Linked DNA regions of Homo sapiens: region 1 is linked to region 2. Evidence: promoter capture Hi-C in human tissues and cell types (Jung and others, 2019). All regions are on one chromosome and are shown on one strand. Each heading gives the region's core, a stretch centred on a gene start or on the middle of the fragment in contact. The rest is flanking DNA. Distances are from core to core; before and after follow the strand shown. Region 1 overlaps LOC105371908 (a long non-coding RNA gene). Region 2 holds the start of TK1 (thymidine kinase 1).

Region 1 (3,339 bases), core at 484-2,983, 380 kb before region 2:
TGGTGATGGTGATGATGATGGTGATAGTGATGGTGGTGGTGATCATGGTGATGGTGATGGTGATGGTGGTGATGATGGTGATGGTGGCGATGATGGTGGTGGTAACGGGGTGATGGTGAAGATAACAAGTGATTGAAATGGGCAAGACTCCCAGGAGGCTGTGGGGCTCATTTAGGGGCCTAGGGAGTCCACAGGAAGAAATCCACATTCTCTAGCCTTTCTAAGTGAAGCAAACTTGCTGTGATCACACTAGAACAGCACATACAATGCCCAGGTCTCCAGGACCATGCCAGCTGCCCACCCGGAAAAGCTATTTTCCTTTGCTACCCATAGAAAACCTTTGGGTGCCTCCACTCCTGGGGCACCGGCAACCCCACCGTCAGCCCTTCATTTCTCTTGCCTTTCCTGGATCAAGGAGCACTGCCAGGCTGCCTCTATCCCTGAGAGTTAGATCCAAATAACTGCCTTTGTTATGTTAATTTTGCAAGTGTCTCCACTCCCCCCCCCCAATTATTTGTCATGCAGCAATTCCTATGTGTTGCTAAAAATACAAACACATGACTCACACAGCTTCTGGCATGGGTAAAGGAAAGAGAACATGCATGGCCTTTCTGCTCTTCGGAGCCCAGCCAGGACACCAATCCAGGCTGAGGGGCTGAGAATAAGCTTGTCTCCAGTTGCAGAAGGACAGAAAACAAAAGGCCCAGATGAGACAGAAGGCTCCAGGCTGGTCAGCTGCATCTCTGGGGCATGACACCACAGTTATGAAATCCTTTGCATCACTTGCTCTGCTATTTGGGGCATTACCTTGTGAAAGGTTCAGATCTCAGTTCTTGTTTAGGGTCTTCTGTATTCCACACCCACATGCTCATACCAGCCTCCATGTGCCCAGATGTGCCTGCTACTCTTGGGCCCTCCACAACCTTGCACCAGCAAGGGGCGGGATAAATCTTCAGGGCACCACCCTCATTCAGAAAAGGAAGACGGCTCCATTCTCACCCCTTCCCTGTGATTTCCCCCAGCAGTCCACGTGTCCCTACCCTGGGGATGCTTGTGCAGGTTGGACTTCATTTGCTTCAAGGACAGACCCTGGGGCCAAGAAGCAGCATCTCATGCCAGTGAAGAGATCAAACTCTAGAACTGGCAAATCCGGCTCAGGCAACCTCTGCTTTTTTATCATCCAAATGGGAGCATTAACAGACACCCTTTGAGGGTGATGTGAGGATTAAGGAAGAGACAACCTGCAAAACCATCAGCCCAATGCCTGACCCAGGGAAAGGTTCAATCAGTGTCATCACTGAGGAGCACATATTGTTTTTATTATCATATTCGTGTTCCCAAATCCAGAGGTCGTCTGGCTAGGCAGAGCCATACTTTGCTCTCCCAAATTCGGGGCTCACTTCACCCCATGCTCACCTTACATTGGGGCCTTCTGCCCCTGCTTCCTGGGCACTTCAGCCTCTGAGTCAAGAGGGTGGTTGGCTGAAAAGCAAACACTGTAAGTCCCTGCCCCTGAGACGCAGCAGCTGAAGAAAGCAAGCTTTCAAGAGCATTTGCTTGGCAGCCAAAGCCCTCTGATGAATCAGGGACCTTTTCTGATGACTTACTTTATTCTAGGTGACCTGCTGGGCCATATCCCACTTCCCTCCAGGGTGCTGAGCCGGCAGGAACGAGCATGCGGAGGAGGCAAAAGGGGATGGAGATGGATTTGTGCTTAGAAATAAGATGTGGAGGAGTCCGCCTCAGGTCCCCAGGAGAATCTGTATTGCCTTGGCTGGAGCTGAGGGACTGGACATCCGGTCCCATGCACGAAGACCATCTGCCAGGGCCACCACCTCCTTCCTCCTGAGATGTCCTCCTCCCCAAATGCTCAGCCTCCCTGCAAATCATTCTACTTCTCTGTGGTCAGTGTACAGAGAGGGATTTGGAAATGGGTTGGGGCTGGGGTAGAGCCACATAGAATACAGTGAGAATGATGCCCCAGGGCACTGTGGGGTCTCTGGGGTGCTTTTCATCCATTCGGCAAAATACGTCAAGCAACTACTGTCTAAGGTGTGGCATTCAGTGTCACAGTGAATAAGGAAAGGTTGTCCTGGGGGTCAGGAAGGGAAATGAGACCACACACAAGCAATCCCATCTCTAACCTGAGCACTGGCAGAAAGTAGCAGGGACTTCCTTCTAGGAAGGAAGTCACCATGTCCCAAGAAAGCTCAGCGGCCAAGCTTGCTGGGCCCTCTGTGGGAAGATGGCAAAAGCAGAAATTGACCTCGTCATCAATGAGTATGGCCCAGGGAGACAGATGGCAAGCTGAGCTCCTCACCTGGCTGATGTCTATTTCACTGAAGTCTGAGCTAGTCCAGCCGTTGGAGTCTGTGTGTCACTAGCATATTTGTAGGTCATAGAGTACTTGTTGGCTGATCAGGGCCCAGAGAGCAGCCACTGGGGTATCAGCCAGAACGTGGAGGTTGGGTTCAGGGCCAACACCAATGGGGTTGGGCTCTAGGGTGGGAGGTGCCTATGGACTGTACCCTGGAGAACCCAAAGACCATAGCCACCTTCCAGGCCTTCTTTACCCCAAAGGCCTGTGATTTCCAAAGCTAGGTCATAAGCACATTGCAGCCTTCACTTGCTCTCTCTTGCATCCCTTCCTCTAGGGAAAGAGCCGCCATATTGTGACGATACTCAAGAGCCCCATGGAAAATTCCACATGAAGAGGAACTGAGGCCTCCAGCCAACAGCCAGCAACTACTTGCTCACCACATGAATGAGCCATCTTGGAAGCAGACTCTCCCACCCCAGTTAAGCCTTCAAATGACTCTAGCCCTGCCAACATCTTGACAAAAGGCTCAGGAGAGATGCCAACCTAGAACCACCCAGCTAAGCTGCTCCTGAATTTCCTGAATCACAGAAACTATGGGCAATAACAAATAGTTATTATTATTTGAATCCCTTAAGTTTTGAGGAAATTTGTGATGCAGCCATAGATAATGAATAAAAGGAGTTTCCGTTCAGGTAGACATTCCTTGAGCTTTGATCTTTACTTGACCCTAGGAAGCAGGTGTTTCACCGAGCCTCCCACCTTATAGTCCTTTTCCCTGTACCTGCCTTGTCTTTTCCATCTAGTTCTTCTTGTCTATGCCACTTTACTTGTGATTTTCTCTATTTGGGGCCATCTAGGGATGTTTTTTAGAGCAAGATGGTCATGTTTAATTTTTTAAGCCAAAAACAGCTGTAATCGCCTTTTAATTATACATACAGGATAGAGACTGTGATATGGTTAGGCTGTGTCCCCACCCAAATCCCATCTTGAATTGTAATAATCCCCATGTGTCAAGGCAG
Region 2 (3,591 bases), core at 71-2,570:
GTTGACCAGGGTGGTCTCAAACTCCTAACCTCAAGTGATCAACGCACCTCAGCCTTCCAAAGCGCTGGGATTAAAGGCGTGGGCCACCACACCTGGCATACAGCTTTTCTAAATTAATTTCAGAAAGTCTTTGTGTGCAGCGTCAAAAGCACTTGCTTCTGGGTCCAAGAAGTCCAACTCTGAGCCACATCTTCCTGAGCAAGGGGTTTGAGCTGAAGTGATCCCCAGGGCCATAAAAGAATGTTGGGGCAGGGCATGGTGGCTAACATCTGTAATCCCAGCACTTTGGGATGCTGAAGTAGGAGGATTGCTTGAGACCAGGAGTTCAAGACCAGCTTGGGCAACATAGCAAGACCCCAGCTCTATAAAAATAAAATAAAATTAGCTGGGTGGAGGCGGGGGGGTGCACGCCTGTAGTCCCAGCTACTTGGGAGGCTGAGGTGAGAGAATTGCTTGAGCCCAGGAGTTTGAGACCAGCCTGGGCAACATAGCAAGATCCTACCTCTAGAAGAACAAAAACAAAACAAAAAGAATGGTGCGTGGGTAGTTTACTCAAGAAACTCACTAGCCCCACCCGGGTCAGGGAATGGTTCTATCACCTCAGGAGAGCAGAGGCTCCACGGCTTCAGACTCCTTGGTTTAGAAAGCGACTACGTTTCCTTGGCCTTAGAAGGAAACAGCCACATTGAATAGGGGTGTACAAAAAGGCCTGGCCTACAGGGGACACAACTGGTTGCCACCTTCTCAGAGGACTTGGTGGGGAAGACAGCTAAGCTGTAAGCAGCTGTCACCAGCTCCAGGAGGGAGTGGCGTCCACACAGGACGAGGGGCTTGGCCTGGGCAGAAGAGGGCAGAGACTTCCTCCTGGACTGAATTCAAGGGAGGAGCACCCCAGGCGGGAGCTGTAGGAGGCTGTGCTGGTCCTTCTAGGGGAAGGGAAGGGGAGGGAAGGGAAGGGGAGGGGAGGGGAGGGGAGGGAAGGGGAGGGGAGGGACGGGACAAGGGGTCCCCGGAGAAGAGGAAGGAGCTCCACCCCAGCCCCGCGAAGCCATTACCTTTTTCCTGAGAACATCGGCCCGAGAATCACCTAGGAGAGAAGGTGAGGTCATTTGAGGGCCCGCCCTGCGCGGATGCCTGGACACAGGCTATCACCACGACCACCTCATCCCCAGCCACGCGCAGGGCTGGCCCCCGCACCTGGATCTGCCCCCGGGTCTTGCTGGGGGAGCCAGGCAGCACAGTGGGCAGGTTAATGCAGCTCATTGCGCCTCCGGGAAGTTCACGAACCCGAGTACTCTCCAAGGCCGTCCCGCAGTAAGCCCCTGGTTCCCGCGCCGACCGCTTTAAACCACGGCGTGCTGGCCAATCACGAGCCGGCCCCGCCGCCATGGGGCCAATCAGCGCCCGGCCGCTGACCTGGCGGGAGATTTGGCCGCAGCCCGCCCCCTCGTGGGAGGAATCCGGGACGTGCGCCCAGGGACTGGGAGGGCCTGGAAATCAGGGCGATGGACGTGGCTGATCGGGGTGGGGCCTGGTCTGAGCCCCGCCTCGGTCCGCCCACCAAGTTTAAAGGGGCGGAGCGAGGCGGGGCTCTGGCCATATAAACAGAGGGACGCACGCCCATGCGGCTGTAGACGCCATGATGGATGTGTCTGGTGTGGGTTTCCCAAGCAAGGTTCCTTGGAAGAAGATGTCTGCAGAGGTAGGTGGATTGCAGGGAGGGACTAAGGGGCTGGGGCGGAGTTAGCTCATTTATTAGATTGGAATTCCAAGAAGGAAGCTTAGAAGCCGTCTAGAGCACTCCTGTGGGCATGCAGAGCGCCTAGTGCGTGCCAGGTCCCCAGTGCTTGAGCACCATGGTGTATTTTACCTTCTCCTAAGGATTTTTGTTAACCTGGTTTTCAGGATAAAGAAAATTGAAGTCCTGACTATGCTAATAATATCCGTAGACCCTGCCAGGCGTGGCGGCTCACACCTGTAATCCTAGCACTTTTGGCGGATCACGAGGTCAGGAGTTCGAGACCAGCCTGGCCAACATGGTGAAACCCCGTTTCTACTAAAAATACAAAAATTAGCCGGGCGTGGTGATGTACCTCTGTAATCCCAGCTACTGGGGAGGCTGAGACAGGAGAATCGCTTGAACCCAGGAGGTGGAGGTTGCAGTGAGCCGAGATCATGCCATTTGTACTCCAGCCTGGAAGGCTGGGCGATAGACCAAGACTTAGTCTCAAAAAAAAAAAAAAAAAAAAAAAAAAAAATCCATAGACCCGCAGGAGGTTAGGGGACAAAGTTCTGGACCTTGATCTGAGGTTACACAATGTTTTTGGGTCTGTGCTTATGTGGCACAGGCTGAAGGATTCAGAACAGCTGGTATTTACATTGGGGTTGTGAAGGTTAGAAACATACAGGCCGGGTGCGGTGGCTCAAAAAAAAAAAGAAAGAAAGAAAAGAAACCCATTGTATAATCATGATCATAAATAATAGCAACAAAGATGGTGGTAGTGATCACAGAGTGTGCCAGGTGTGGCTGTAAGGATCCTACAGGTAATAACCTTTCCAGGTACAGATTGGACAGATCCAAGGACCTCTGACAAAGAGCTCCTTCACTGGGAGGAAGAAGCAACCCACACTGACTGGCTTGCTTTATTTTACTCGCATGCTTTATCTCTTTTAACCTTGTGATTTGGATACATGCCTTCTTTTTTTGAGACACAGTCTCGCTCAGTCACCCAGGCTGGAGTGCAGTGGCATGATCTCGGCTCACTGCAACCTCTACCTCCCGGGTTCAAGTGATTCTCCTGCCTCAGCCTCCCGAGTGGCTGGGATTACAGGCACACTGTAGCTGGTACTACATGCCTGGCTAATTTTTTTTTTTTTTCTTTTGAGACAGAGTCTCGCTCTATCGCCCAGGCTGGAGTGCAGTGGCGCGATCTGGGCTCACTGCAACCTCTTCTTCCAGGGTTCACGCCATTCTCCGGCCTCAGCCTCCTGAGTAGCTGGGACTACATGCGCCCGCAACCATGCCCGGCTAATTTTTTTGTATTTTTAGTAGAGATGGGGTTTCACTGTGTTAGCCAGGATGGTCTCCAACTCCTGACCTCATGATCCGCCCCCCTTGGCCTCCCAAAGTGCTGGGTTTACAGGCATGAGCCACTGCGCCTGGCCAATTTTTGTATTTTTAATAGAGATGGGGTTTCGCCATGTTGGACAGACTGGTCTTGAACTCCTGGCCTCAAGTGATCCACCCGCCTCGGCCTCCCAAAGTGCTGAGATTACAGGTGTGAGCCACTGTGCCGGGCCTGGATAGATACCTTCTACCAGTCAGGAAACTGAATCTCAGAGACTAAGTAACTTGTTGAGGATAAAACAGTAAGTAAGTGAGGGAGGTCAGATGGCATTTGACCTCAGGCCTTGCCATGAGGCTGCCCTGACTTCCCATTTCTCATGATGGTTTTGAGCCCTTTCTTCAAAATCTGGTTCCTTGTTACTTTTTTTTTTTTTTTTTTTTGAGATGGAGTCTCGCTGTTGTCACCCAGGCTAGAGTGCAATGGTGGGATCTCAGCTCGCTGCAACCTCCACCTCCCGAGTTCC

The links. The method cuts DNA at HindIII sites, captures the fragments that hold promoters and counts their contacts. A contact is called where the count stands out against the background at its distance.
Region 1: a contact is called between a fragment that was not itself captured here and the fragment with the promoter of TK1 in region 2, in 2 of the 25 tissues and cell types used here (aorta and stomach).

The regions. Positions count from the first base shown.
Region 1 is chr17:77,810,158-77,813,496 of GRCh38, forward strand. All of the region lies in intron 1 of LOC105371908 (a long non-coding RNA gene), which reads right to left. Among named protein-coding and RNA genes, the nearest start is that of LINC01973, 72 kb to the right of the region's middle. RefSeq lists an enhancer at 269-957. The HindIII fragment of the contact is 4,695 bases long and covers 1-3,339 here.
Region 2 is chr17:78,185,732-78,189,322 of GRCh38, forward strand. It overlaps TK1 (thymidine kinase 1), which reads right to left and starts at 1,321. Exons shown (of 7, transcript NM_003258.5): 1 at 1,198-1,321; 2 at 1,056-1,087. The coding sequence starts at 1,263. It overlaps AFMID (arylformamidase), which reads left to right and starts at 1,631. Exons shown (of 11, transcript NM_001010982.5): 1 at 1,631-1,702. The coding sequence starts at 1,640. RefSeq lists a silencer at 1,474-1,613. The HindIII fragment of the contact is 12,138 bases long and covers 1-3,591 here.